Regions from separate parts of the Homo sapiens genome. Here all the other regions are linked to region 1. The links are contacts of gene promoters, found by promoter capture Hi-C in blood cells and fetal thymus (Javierre and others, 2016). All regions are on one chromosome and are shown on one strand. Each heading gives the region's core, a stretch centred on a gene start or on the middle of the fragment in contact. The rest is flanking DNA. Distances are from core to core; before and after follow the strand shown. Region 1 holds the start of EID2 (EP300 interacting inhibitor of differentiation 2). Region 2 holds the start of ZNF780A (zinc finger protein 780A). Region 3 holds the start of EIF3K (eukaryotic translation initiation factor 3 subunit K).

Region 1 (4,703 bases), core at 476-2,975:
ATTTGGACATAACCTCAGAATGGAATAAAATGCCACTTTAAAAAATAATGAGGAAATACAGTGGTTTGGAAGGGTCAACATATGTTCTTAATGAGAAAGCAATGTATAAACCAGTAAATATAATATGCCGACTTCTGTGAAGAAATAAAACAAGTAAACCCAGATTTATATGTGCCTGTGTACACGTAAGGAAACTAGAAGGACGGAAAGGAAACTGTGGCTATTAGAGGTCATCGTTGGTACTGGATGGAGGAAAACAAGAATGGAAGGCTTTTCGCTGTATATTTTATATATTTTTTGGCTTGTGAATAGATTTTTTAATACCAAAAAAACTTTAAAAATTAAAAATTGAAAGAAAAAAGTCCAGAAATTTGACGTTCTTGAAAACATGATTTATCACATAATATATACATTTACTTTGCTTGTCACTTGAAATGCCTAAGAAAACACAAAATCAATCTTAAACTAGAAACTTCTATTGAATATGACATGAAGAGAGCACATATTCCGACAATTTCAAGTTCTTTTCATAGCCTTCCAGTCCTAATAACTCAGCGTTAACATCTTATTCTGTTCAGCACTATTTGATAATTTCTTTCATCCTCATGGGCTCTAGTATTGATGTTTCATCAGTCTCAATTTTATAAAACCATCCTTTACTTTGTAATAAAGCAATGCTGAGAGACATTTTCCATAATGCAGGGGGAAAAATGTGGATCAATCACAAACTCAAAGAACGTTACAGTTATAATGCTTTCGACATTTTTTTCTACTTCTGTGATGCTTTTTCAAGATAAGCTTCCCCCTCCCCCTTTTTTTCCCCTCCACCTGTGCACTGTCTTATCGCGATATACTCTTGACTTCTGAAAATCAAGTTGCAGGATTGGTATGACTGGAATGCAGAGGTTCTCTTGAAGTAGTGTCACCACATAACTATTCTCTATTGATAAACTTATCGCAACCAAGTTCTTCTATCAGAGGGTTGATAACTTCAGAGGCAGTCAGAGCTATCGTAAAGGTTAAAATATCGAGGTCCACCCTGTGAGGATTTCGCTGATATTCGGCATCAAACGCTGCTTCCCTTGCTCTGCAGGCTTCCACGAATCGCCTGCGGCGTTCTTCAAGCTCTTGTATTCTGCCGGGAGCAATCGGGTAATTTTCCAGATAGTGGCGGAGAAACTGCTGGTAATTGATGCCTAAAACGCTAAGTGGGTGGCGGAGACGGAGATAGGGCAACGCAGCCAGGCCTCCGTTCCCGTGTCTGGACCTGGGCCTGCCCTCGGGACCCTCTTCGTCCACTGGCTCCCCCAGCAAGCGGGCGACCTCCGCCATCCGGGCTTCCCTGGCCGCCGCCGCCGCCGGGCTTTCCCTGCCCGCCGCGGCTGCCCTGGCCAACGCCGCCGCTGCCACCGGGGCTCCCCTGGCTGCCGCCGCCGGGGCTGCCCTGGCCGCCGCCATCCGACCTTCCCTGGCCGCCGGCACCGGGCCTCCCCTGGCCGCCGCCATCGCGCCTTCCCCGGCCTCCTCAGGCTGTGCCGGGGCCGGCTCCCGCCTCCCGCGGCCTACCTCCGCCTGCGGGACGTCTCTGTCACCATTCGCCGCGCCTGTCTGCGGGACACTGCTGTCTGCGGGCAGCTTGGACATCTCAGACCGTGGGGTCAACTCGGCTGCTCCCAGAGAAACTGGAATAACTGGACAGAGCGATGCCCGGCGGACACCCCAGTGCGCGTGCGTGGGCGCTATGCGCGCTGTAAATGCAGTGTGCGTAACCGGGCGCGAGAGCATAGATTCTTACCGCAAACCCTGGGAGCAGTGCGCATGCGTACTTTCCCGGCGCCCGCCGTTCTCCAGATGCCCCCTCGAGGCCGGGAAGCGCCAACGCATCTGAAACATCCCAACGACGAAGGGCGGGGGACATTTCAACCAGTTTGATGTTTATGAGGAACGCTTACAAGATCGCTTCTTGTAGGCGTTCTCAAGGTTCTGTCCTAGGGTGTTTCTCTTTGTTCTCCAGTGATTATGTGCCACCTCTATTATATATCAAGATATTTTAGATTCATGGTCTTTTCTGGATTTTTAAATTGTTTTTCATTCATTCCTTTGCCTGTCTTCATCCATACGGATCGTCCTAGCTACCAAAGCTTTGTAATTACAGTCTTTTCGTGTTATCTTTAACATTGCATTGACTACCTTGGACATTTGTTTTTCGAATCTTATTTGTGCAATATAACATGCAGAAAAGTAAACAAAACATAAATATACAGCTGAATGATTTATCACAAAGTGAACATCCGTTTAACTACCACACAGTCCAAGAAGTGGAATATTTCCAGCATCCCAGAACCCTTCCTCTTCTTCTTATCACTATCCTTTCCTTTCTACGCAGAAGTAACAACTATGCTGATACTTATGGTAATCACTTTCTTGTTTTTCTTTTCATTTTACCACCTAAGGGTGCATTCCTAATGCTGTAGTTTAGTTTGGTTTGTATTCTGAACTTTATCTATGTGAGAAACACACTCACCTGCGTAATTTTTGTATTTTTAGTAGAGACGAGGTTTCACCATGTTGGCCAGGATGGTCTCGATCTCTTGACCTCGTGATCCGCCTGCCTCGGCCTCCCAAAGTGCTGGGATTACAGGCGTGAGCCACTGCGCCGGCCACTTTCTTCCCTTTTATGGGCTGACCCCGCCTCTACATTCTGTTCCCTTATTGTGACCTTCTAGGTGGATGAGCCCTGCAGTTTGTTATATTTGCAGGCTGGCTGCCAGTACTTAGATTTATCATGCCTCAGAAATGGACCATTTAAAATGTTTTCTCACATACACACTTGTATCTGTTTTTTTGTGCATTATTTTTATGAGATTCATCCATTCACATTTTCTCTTCCTCCCTCCCTCCCTCACTCCCTTCCTTCCTTCCTTCCTTCATTCCTTCTTTCTTTCATCTCATTCTGTTACCCAGACTGGAGTGCAGTGGCACAATCACAGCTCAACGTGGCCTCAACCTTCCGAGCTCAAATAATCCTCCCACTTCAGTCTCCTGAGTACCTGGGACTACAGGTGTACACCACCACACCCAGTTAATTTTTAATTTTTTTGTAGAGACAGGGTCTCCTTATGTTGCCCAGGCTGGTCTCAAAGTCCTGGGCTCAAACGACCCGCCTGTCTCAGCCTCCCAAAGTGCTGGGATTATAGGGTGAGCCAGAGCACTCGGCCTCCAGCCTACATTTTCATTATGGTTTATAAATACTTTATTTTCTTGATAGTTATTATATTCATTACCATTTTTTTTATGAAGTCTCGCTCTGTTGCCCAAGCTGAAGTACAGTGGTGTGATCTTGGGTCACTGCAACCTCTGCCTCCCAGTTCCAGTGATTCTCCTGCCTCAGCCTCCTGAGTAGCTGGGATTACAGGTGCGCGCCACCATGCCCGGCTAATTTTTGTATTTTTAGTAGAGACAGGGTTTTATTATATTGGCCAGGCTGGTCTCGAACTCCTGACCTCATGATCCGCCAGGCTTTGGCCTCCCAAAGTGCTGATATTACAGGCGTGAACCACTGTGCCCGGCTTATTACCATTCTTTTATGGATCTTGTAATATTAAAACATGCATCTTATATACTGACTCTCCAATTAATTTCCCTTTGTTCTGATTAATGTGAACAAACAAAATAATTTGATTTGATTTTGCTGGTGGTGGTCCCCGTCATGATGCCATGATTCATGACCATCAACAAATGACTTAAGTGACTTATCGTTCTCTGCCCTATCAGAAGTAGCTATTCTGAGGCAGTAAGGTCTCATCCACAGAGCACAAGACTGCATTTTAATTTTCCTGGTCCAAGCACCAAATTAATAAAACACAACAGCTAGTCTACTTGCTGCTTCCCACCAGCATCTCTGCAATCACTAAGTGTGCGGCTCCTTTAAGGCAGCTCCCAGGCTAGGCTGGAGACAGATCTATTGTTCTCACCCTCAGGCTGCCTGGAGAGTCACAAATATTTAACAAAGGAAGTTCCAGACTTAGGTGACAACATATATTATCACAGGAAGAAGTAGAAATCATAGTAATTTGCTGTAATCCTACAGAAGCGGATATAATCTTGTTCTCTGGACTAAGAGTCACCTTACAGCAGAAGCTGAAAGGCCCTCTGATTTTCTAAGAATAGAAATTGCTCTAAGTAAAATGATGGTTTATTAGATCCGGAAGTGATATAAAAATGGTTCTAGGAAAATGAAGTGAACTAAAATAAGAAGCTACAAATAGAGGAAGGCAGAAAAACTTGGTGATAATGTGAGGGGATACAAACAAAAATTTGAGAGGTAGTCCAGGTTTGCTGTTGCTCCCAAGACTGTGCCTGCGGTGGCTGCAGCATCTTTGTAATTCACTGCCACTATTTCGGGATGACTTGAGGATGATTGTAACCATGTTGTAGACTAAACCATTAAGGCAGCTGGGATCAGGGGCTCCATATTGCTTAAAATCTTTACAGCAGAGGTGTGTGTGTGTGTGTGTGTGTGTGTGTGTGTGTGTGAGAGAGAGAGAGAGAGAGAGAATTTGAATCCAATTAATATATATATTTTGAGAGAGTCTGGCTCTGTCATCCAGGCTGGAGTACAGTGGCGCGATATCTTGGTTCACTGCAACCTCCACCTTCCAGGTTCAAGTGATTCTCCTGGAGAATCCCGCCACTGCACTCCA
Region 2 (4,647 bases), core at 1,639-4,138, 550 kb after region 1:
CAAATAGAAGAAAACATAGGGGGAAAGCTCTGTGAAACTGATCTGAGCAATGATTTTTTTTGGGATATGACCTCAAAAGCACAGGTAACAAAAGCAAAAATGAACGAATGAAATTATGTCAAGCTAAAAAGCTTCTGCACAGAAAAGGAAACAATCAACAAAGTGAAGAGACATCTTGTAGAATGAGAGAAAATATTTGCAACCATATATATGATAAGAGATTAAGATCCAAAATGTATGCAGAAGTCAAACAACTCAACAGCAAAAAAAAACCTGATTAAAAGATGGGCAAAGGACCTGAACAGGCACATCCCAAAAGAAGACATATAAATGGCCAACAGTTTATGAAAAAATACTCAACATCACTAATCATCAGGGAAATGAAAATTAAACCCGCAATAAGATATTAGCTCATACCTGTTAGGGTGGCTACTGGAAAGACAAATGTTAACAAGTATTGGCAAGAAAAGGGGAACGCTTACACACTGTGGGTGAGAATGTAAATGGGCACAGCCATTATGGAAAACAGTATGGAGGTTCCTCAAAAAATTAGAAATAGAACTACCATATGATCCAGCCATCCCACTACTGGGAATATATCTCCAAAGGAAATGAAATCTGTATGTCAAAGAGATATCAGCATACCCATGTTTATTGCAGCATTATTCACAATAGCCAAGATATGGCATCAACCTACGCGTCTAACAATGAATAAATGGATAAAGAAAATGTGGTATATATGCAGGTATATTTACACAAGGGAATACTATTTAGCCATAAAAAGCAGGAAATTCTGTCATTTGCAAAAACATGGATGAACCTGGAGAACATCATATTAAGTGAAGTAAGCCAAGCACAGAAAGACATATGATCTCACTCTTCAGCCAAATCTAAAAAAGTTGATATCATAGAAGTGGAGAGTAGAATCGTATTTACAGATCTGGGGTAATGTGGGTGAGGGAGGAAGGAGGGCAGTGTTGACTGGGGAAATGTTGGTCAAAGGATACAAAATTTCAGGAAGATAAGAGAAATAAGTTCAGGAGATCTATTACACAACAGGGTATCTCCAATTAATAACAATATTCTGTAGTCTTGAAAAATGCTAGGAGGGTGGATATTAAGTGTTCTCACCACAAAAATGATAACTATGTGAGGTAATGCATTGTTAATTAGCTAGATTTAGTCATTCCACAATGTATACATACCATAAAACTTCATGTTGCACATGATAAATACATACAATTATATCTGTCGATTTAAAAAGAAAGAATTTCTGTCCTAGATCATTTGAGCCCCTCACTCATTTTCTTAATATACAACCAGCAGTCGCAATGAATCACATATTCCCAATGCTCCTGTTCTGTAGAGAGTCAAGGGGAATGACTTAAAATGACTACACAAAAAACAACAGTTAAAACATATTAAACATTATTATATGCCTAGCACTGCTCTAAGGGGCTTTACGATATTAATTCATTCTAATGACAGAACCAATATTCCAACCCAGATACTCTGGATCCACTCCCCTATTCTTAACCACAACAGTGTACTGCCTCTCACAGTACACACACACACACACACACACACACTCACACACACACGCCTAAAACACAACTGGAGCTGCCAAACCTCAGAGAGATCTGGCAAGTATTACAAATATCATCTCATGGACTCCCTGGAAAAATCCTGGCTCTTGTTGATACCAATTTCTGTGCGGTCACTTTTCCACTACCGAATGCCTCACAGGCAATGGAGATCATCCAACCATCTCCATTCTTCCCTGTTTTGAAAAGGAGGTCTGTAAAGACCAACTGATGTCTAGTGTGTGATTCCACCTAAACACTAATCTCCTCCTTCCCAAATATGGGTCTAAAATGGAGCTTTAATATTAACTACTGGAGGTGTATTTCTATACCAGCTTCGAAAAAGAGAGCGCACAGGAAGGTGTGAACGATTTGCCAAATTGTTTTGTGACTATTAAGTGGAAAGGTGAAGGAGGGGGCACGAATCAATTTGCATATCCCCCTAGTTTCACTGAAAATTTAAGGGGAAATCTCAATATTCTAAAATCAAAAACGCATGTCTTGAACAAATACAAAGCACAAACTCACCCTTGACTTTAGGTGTGCAGCAGTAACGCTCTCATCCTCCTCCAGGTCCTTCTTTTGGATAAAAATACGACTGGAGAAGGATACGGCAAGCGTGAGACTCCAGGCATTTCTTGGAGCGCAGACTAAGTTTGAAAACACCCTCCCTCCATAGCCACAATTTCCCTCACTTCACACGAAATAGGAAGGAAGTAAAAGGAAGAGGAATCGATTCAACCAGTACAACCAGTTTGGAGCTGGTTTCTGGGGACAGAGCTCTGAGGACGCTGTGGTTCTCAACATGTAGCTGCCCCCCTGGGGAACACTCGGGGGCACTTCTGCGCTTTCTTGTGTAAAGCTTCATTCTCGGCTCAATATCTGACCTCCCTACTGGGGCCATTCCTCTGCTGCAGTCCCCGCAGCTGTGAAGCGGAAAGAGGGAGGAAGCAGCAGGAGCCTAGGGGCACCGGCACAGTGTCACTCAGCAAAGTGCGCTGCGTCCACACGCCCTCCCGGGCCTGTGCATAGAACCTCACGCACACACTCACAGTCCCCTCCGTCACTCATGATCTCACAATCCCCCTCCTCTGATACCCGCGCACACACACGCCTGGGGATCCGGCAGATCCCGTCTGCACCCCCGGGTTCCTACTCTGAGCGCCTCCCCCTAGGCCACCCGCACTGTCGGGTCAGTCAGGCTGGAGCCCCAATCCGCAGAGATCTCCCGCAGCCACAGATCTCTTCCTCAGACGTGAAGACCTTACCCCGCTATGTCGTCGACCCCGGAGACCGGAAGTGGACTGGCGCGGTGGCCGCTGGGAAATACAGTCCCGAACAGAAAAAGCCTCAGAAGCCTTGAGCTGTGATCCGTTCAGGTTGATCCCAGCATACTATGGGGGCTGACCCCTAAGGGAGCCGAGCCTAGTGGATTCGTGGGAGTTCCAGCCCGCGGGGTGCACAGGTTGTTGCCATGAGCAAGGATCCCCATGTGAGAAGAGCGTTTCCCTCTCGGAGCGTCAGTATAATTTACTTTTTCTCTCCATGGAGAATGCAAATGAGCAGAACTTTTAAAGAAGAAAGAAGAATTTAAAGTAAAATTATGTCAACATGTAGGTGCTTTAACTCCTTTGTCTCAGACCCCAGCGATAGGCTTCCACTTCTCTGTGCTATTTGAAGGGGACTTAGGATAAATTTGAAAAGCTTGAACTAAAGAATTGGTTGGTTATATACTAGGAGAGGAAGTGTGGTTCACATTGGAGATTTCAGAATCAAATGTCCTGGATTCTTCGAGACAATGTTCCTGTTATCTGGAGAGAAAAACGTGATTCAGGACGACATGGAAACGGATAAAAATACACAGATAATTACTTGCCTTATCTTGAAGGATGAATAATTAACACTTTGTTAAAATAGTATAAACAAATGCAAAAAAGGGCTTGCTTTTCCTAGGAAGAGCCTGATTTCACTGTTGTAGTCTAACAATATTTAACTTTCAAAATCATTTTTCTAGTTTCCTATGCTACATAAGGAGGAAACATGTAATAATAAAGAGCAAAACGTCTTTTCATTCCAGAATTGTGACAGAAAACAAATAAGATGATTAACTCAACCATATCAATAATCACATTAAATGTAAATGGTCTAAACACCTTAATTTAAAAAGATTGTCAGATTGGATTTTTTAAAAAGTCAGACCCAAATGTGCATCAATGATAGACTGGATTAAGAAAATGTGGCACATATACACCATGGAATACTATGCAGCCATAAAAAGGATGAGTTCATGTCGTTTGTAGGGACATGGATGAAGCTGGAAACCATCATTCTGAGCAAACTATCGCAAGGACAGAAAACCAAACACCAAATGTTCTCAGTCATAGGTGAGAATTGAACAATGAGAACACTTGGACACAGGGTGGAGAACATCACACACCGGGGCCTATAGTGGGGTCGGGGGAGGGGGAAGGGATAGCATTAGAAGATATACCTAATGTAAATGACGAGTTAATGGGTGCAGCACACCAACATGGCACATGTATACATATGTAACAAACCTGCACTTTGTGCACATGTACCCTAGAACTTAAAGTATAATAAAAAAAGATAATTAAATAAATAAATAAACAAAAAGTCAGACCCAAATGGGTGCTACCTACAGGTAATATGTTAAATGAAAAGCACTAAAAGGTTAAGAGTAAAAGGATGGAAAAATATACACCATCCTAACACTAGTCAAAAGAAAGCTGGAGTGGCTTTATTAAAAACAAAGTAGACTCCGGACATAGACTATTACCAGAGATAAAGAAGGGCATAATAATGATAAAGGAGATAGCTCATCGAGTAGAAAAAAACAAACATAAATTTTGCTCCTAAAAGCAAAGCTTCTAAGTATGGGAAGAAAAATCTATTAGATCGAAAAGGAGACAGATCCACAATTATAGTCAGATATTTCAATATATCTCTCTTGGTAATTGATAGAACAAACACAGAAAAGCAACAGGGTATAGCAGATTTGAGCTACATATCAACTTACTTGATCTCATTTATATTTGAGAACACT
Region 3 (4,552 bases), core at 1-2,500, 920 kb before region 1:
GCCTCAGGGCTCAACTTCTGGCACCTCCCTCCGTCCCCAGAAGCCCTGCACCCGCCTTGCCTCCGCGGGCTGTGGCCTCCCCCCTCCTCACTCTCGCTTCCTGCCCCAGCTGCACTGCACGACTGTGCAACGGGCTCCACCCCCCCGTCCCCTGGGCTCTGAGAGCCTCTGAGGGGCAGCTTGTCTTGGGACCCAAGGGACCACCCTCAACCTCCAAGGCCCAGGGCTGGATGTAAATGTGATGCAAATGATCTTAATCGTAACTGGGTTGGAGGGGGGTGCCTTAGAACCCCCGCCCCCGTCTCCTAGGTAGTGTCTAAACCTCTGCTGGGTGCTTGAAGGTTTGGCCACAACCCGAAGGCGGCAGGTCTGCAAAGGGATGGCTATGCAGTGTACATGCCTGTTCACCTGTCACATACATGCACTTGGGTTACCTCCTCTGCACTGCGCAGGCGTGTAGACGTGCATCTGCCTGGATACCTGTGTGCACAGTACACACGTGGATGTACCCAGGACATATACCTCCACATGCATGGCACATAACTGCATTTTGTAGGCCTGCAGTGTACAAAACCTATACATAATATATAATTCATGGCAGTACAAATGGGACGCTCGCCCTCAGCTCCAAGACCGGAACCTAATGGAGACGGGGCGCGATCCGGCGAAGTCCAGGAGCCCTCACCCCAGCCCCTGCCCGGCAGAGCACAGTAGCTTTGTGGGACCCTCCTCCTGGAGCTGGGGACCAAGGGCTGAGACTTGAAACTGGAGAGCTCAGGATCCTGCACCAGGCGCCCAGGCCTGTGGCAAGAGGGACCTCAGAACACCTCCCTCGGAACTTGGCCATGGCCTAAACGTAAGGCTGCTGCGTGCATTCCCGCAGAGCTCCGTGGCCTCATGGCCGCGCGCAATACAACGCGCGCGCACGCCGCCAGAGCTCCGGGTGCTTCCCGGTGAGTTCGCGCGCGCACGCTCCCGCGCTACCGGCACTGGAACTGGGTCTGTGAGGCCCGGGAAAAGCTTAGCCCCGCCCCCTCGCCACGAGAGGCGCCTGCGCACTGGGATCCAGTAAGATTTTTCTCACGCTGTCTGTCCAGCTTGAGTGGCGCGAATGCGCACGCGCCAATTGCGCCTGCGAGGAAGAAGTCACGTGGCAGCCGGAAAGCGTGGCGGCTGCTGCTAGAGCCTTTCCCTTTACCGCACCCAAGGAGCTGGAGCGACAACAACGACGTCGTTTCCGTTTCCACCACCTCTTCCTGTTCCCGTCCTTGAGGACGCCGTGCCGGGTCAGTGTTAGCCTCCAGCCCTGGTTGTGGAAGGCGACAGAAGTCATGGCGATGTTTGAGCAGATGAGAGCCAACGTGGGCAAGTTGCTCAAGGGTATCGACAGGTCTGAGCCCGGTTGGAGGAAGCGCTCTGGCCAAGCGGGGCGGAGGAGAGGGTTTTCCGGAGACAGCAAGGGGTGTTCAGGGTCCTGGGCTTGCCGCGGGGTGGGGTTTCTCTATCCTCCTGGAGGAGGAGATGCTTAAAGAAACGGCACTGAGCTGGGGGTAGTGGCTCACGCCTGTGATCCTAGCACTTTGGGAGGCCGAGGTAGGTGGGTCGCCTGAGCCCAGGAGTTAGAGACCAGCCTGGGCAACAGCCAAACCCCGTCTCTAAAAGAAAGAAACAAAAGCACTGCAAAGGCCTAGAAGCGAGAGAATCTTGGTACCACTCAGTCTCTTCGTAAATTGCCTTAAGGTTTCCTTCTCTGCTCCGCCTCCTTTGAGTGCCTCTTAATCTCTCCCTTCTCTGCTCTATAAGTCATTCATTCTCCACACGTTTACTGAAATAAACTGTCAGTGCTAGGCAATGCTGGGAACCACAGGCGAATCAGACAGCGGCAGATCATGCCTTCACGGTCTGAGTTCCCTTTCCATAAGGGAGACAAACCTGACAGCAGACAGCGATAGCCGGGAGAGATTAGAACTGAAATGGGGGAAGCAAAGGCCAGAGTGTTCAGGTGGACATGGAGGAAGTAGGCAGCGAGGTAGGCAGGAGAGGATGGGGCTGGATCAGGGTGGAGGCCTGAACAGGGGAGGAAGGGGTGAGTAGCAGAGACATTCAGGAGGCCAGGTGTACAAGCTGCAGTGACTGACTGGCTCAGAGGTTGAGGAGGCATCCTAGGGAAGAGCCAGGGCTCCAGTGGAGTTTAGAGCTTAGGCGAGAGGTCTGGGATAAGAATAAGTTTTACTAGAGATTATACTGGACATAATTCACTACCTGGATAGAGCAAGTGGCCAGTGCCAGATTTAGAGGGGAAGGGCGGGAGGAGCAGGTTACAGTGGCCCCTTGCTCCATAAGGTGGCTGGCCTCAGCTTCTGTCTCCTCTGTGCTCACCTATCTTGATTCTCCTTTAGGTACAATCCTGAGAACCTGGCCACCCTGGAGCGCTATGTAGAGACGCAGGCCAAGGAAAATGCCTATGATCTGGAAGCCAACCTGGCTGTCCTGAAGCTGTAAGTGTCTAGCTCTCTGTCTACACTCCCATTGCAGCAACTAGCAGGGTGCCACTCCCAGTACAGGGCAAGGGGGTGGCTGGTAGTATCCTGAACAATGCAGCATCTCTTGGTGTGCAAGACTAGGAAGCCAAGGAAGTTGGGACAGGAGGAGGGATGGTTTTTGAAAAATCAATTGCCGGGCGCGGTGACTCACGCCTGTTATCCCAGCACTTTGGGAGGATGAGGCAGGCGGATCACCTGAGGTAGGGAGTTTGAGACCAGCCTGGCCAACACGGAGAAACCCCATCTTTACTAAAAAATACCAAATTAGCCAGGCGTGGTGCCACATGCCTGTAATCCCAGCTACTCGGGAGGCTGAGGCAGGAGAATTGCTTGAACCCAGGAGGCGGAGATTGTGGTGAACCAAGATCGCGCCATTGCACTCCAGCCTGGGCAACAAGACCGAAACTCCGTCTCAAAAATAATAATAAAAAATCAATTAGGGTGGCCGCAGGGGCTCATGCCTGTAATCCCAGCACTTTGGGAGGCTGAGGCGAGAGACTCACTTGAGCCAAAGAGTTCGAGACCATCCATGGCAACATAGCGAGACCCAACCCTACGAAAAAATTTAAAAATTAATGTAGCGGTGTGTGGCTGTAGTTCCAGCTACTTGAGAGGCTGAGGTGGAAGGATCGCTTAAGCCTGGAAGATTAAGGTGCAGTGAGCCATGATAGTGCCACTGCACTCCAGCCTGGGGGACAGAGTGAGACCCCTCTTTTTAAAAAAAAAAAAAAAAAAAAGAATTACCAATTTGGGTGACATGGCACAACCCTGTCTCTACAAAAATTAGCTGGGCCCAGTGGCGCATGGCTGTAGTCCCAGCTCCTTGGGAGGCTGAGGCAGGAGAATTTTTTGAGCCTGGGAGGCAGAGGTTGCAGTGAGCCAAGATCATACCACTGCACTCCAGCTTGGGCGACAGAGTGAGACCCTGTCTCAAAAATAAATAAAGGTTAATTACAGAACACATGTACAGGCTAATACATTAAGCAAACATGTAGTTTAACAAATCATTATAAATGAAAGCCTACATAATCACCATTTATGTTGCAAAGTTATTGCTAGCACCACAGGCTCTTTGCCCCCTATGCTCTATGCCAACCAATTCCCCTGCTCCCCCATGCTCTCATGGCCTGGCTTTATGTGATGGTTTACTATGCATGCATACATCTGGCTCAGCTCAGCTCAGGTTTCCCTGCTTTGAACTTGATACAGATGGAGTGCATACAGCACAAACTCTTCTGCATTTGCCATTTGCTACTCAGCACTGGGTTTGTGAGATCCATCCAGTGTTTTTTGTTTTTTTGTTTTGTTTTTGATATGGCTGCAGTTTGTTGTCATGGATGTATAGCTCTCCACTGTGTCACTTGTGTGGCTGTCCTAATGATCTCTTCTGGCTCTTGATGGACATTGTGGGTTCTTCGTGCCCTTTTTTTTTTTTTTTTTTTTTTGGAGACAGGATCTTCTGTTGCCCAGGCTGGAGTACAGTGGCACAGTCATGGCTCACTGCATCCTTAGCCTTCTGGACTCAAGTGATTCTCCCGCCTCAGCCTCCTGAATAGCTGGGACTACAGGCATGCACCACCATGCCCAGCTAATTTTACTTGGGTGCTTTCTTTCTTTCCTTTTTTTTTTTTTTTTGAGACAGGGTCTCACCTTCTTGCCCAGGCTAGAGTGCCTTGGCGTGATCTCATGATCTCAACTCAGTGCATCCTTTGCCTCCCAGGTTCATGTAATCCTCCTGCCTCGGCCTCCTAAGTAGCTGTACGTATCGGGGGGCCTGCCCCGATAATCACGTAGGTTCTTTTCTATATTCCTAAGCATTGGCTGGCTTGAGAAATAGAAGGACAGAGTACAAAAGAGAGAAATTTTAAAGCTGGGCGTCCGGGGGAGACATCACACATTGGTAGGATCCGTGATGCCTCACAAGCCACAAAAACCAGCAAGTTTTTATTAGGGATTTTCAAAAGGGGAGGGAGTGTGCGAATAGGTGTGGGCGACAGACATCAAGTACT

The links. Contacts are between HindIII fragments. The CHiCAGO score rates a contact against its expected background, and 5 or more counts as called.
Region 2: the fragment with the promoter of ZNF780A here is called in contact with the fragment with the promoter of EID2 in region 1 in 2 of 17 cell types (erythroblasts and fetal thymus); the score reaches 5.8 in erythroblasts.
Region 3: a contact is called between the fragment with the promoter of EIF3K here and the fragment with the promoter of EID2 in region 1, in 6 of 17 cell types (fetal thymus, naive B cells, total B cells and 3 more). The highest score is 16.1, in fetal thymus.

What each region holds. Positions count from the first base shown.
Region 1 is chr19:39,538,436-39,543,138 of GRCh38, forward strand. It overlaps EID2 (EP300 interacting inhibitor of differentiation 2), which reads right to left and starts at 1,726. Exons shown (of 1, transcript NM_153232.4): 1 at 272-1,726. The coding sequence starts at 1,644. The coding sequence ends at 934. RefSeq lists a silencer at 1,431-1,510 and an enhancer at 1,482-1,981. The HindIII fragment of the contact is 1,343 bases long and covers 797-2,139 here.
Region 2 is chr19:40,088,055-40,092,701 of GRCh38, forward strand. It overlaps ZNF780A (zinc finger protein 780A), which reads right to left and starts at 2,889. Exons shown (of 6, transcript NM_001142578.2): 1 at 2,852-2,889; 2 at 2,112-2,181. RefSeq lists an enhancer at 2,622-3,163 and a silencer at 2,711-3,040. The HindIII fragment of the contact is 842 bases long and covers 2,444-3,285 here.
Region 3 is chr19:38,617,938-38,622,489 of GRCh38, forward strand. EIF3K (eukaryotic translation initiation factor 3 subunit K) reads left to right here and starts at 1,251. Exons shown (of 8, transcript NM_013234.4): 1 at 1,251-1,390; 2 at 2,400-2,498. The coding sequence starts at 1,332. It overlaps MAP4K1 (mitogen-activated protein kinase kinase kinase kinase 1), which reads right to left and starts at 16. Exons shown (of 31, transcript NM_001042600.3): 1 at 1-16. RefSeq lists enhancers at 540-589, 4,283-4,552. The HindIII fragment of the contact is 6,969 bases long and covers 1,019-4,552 here.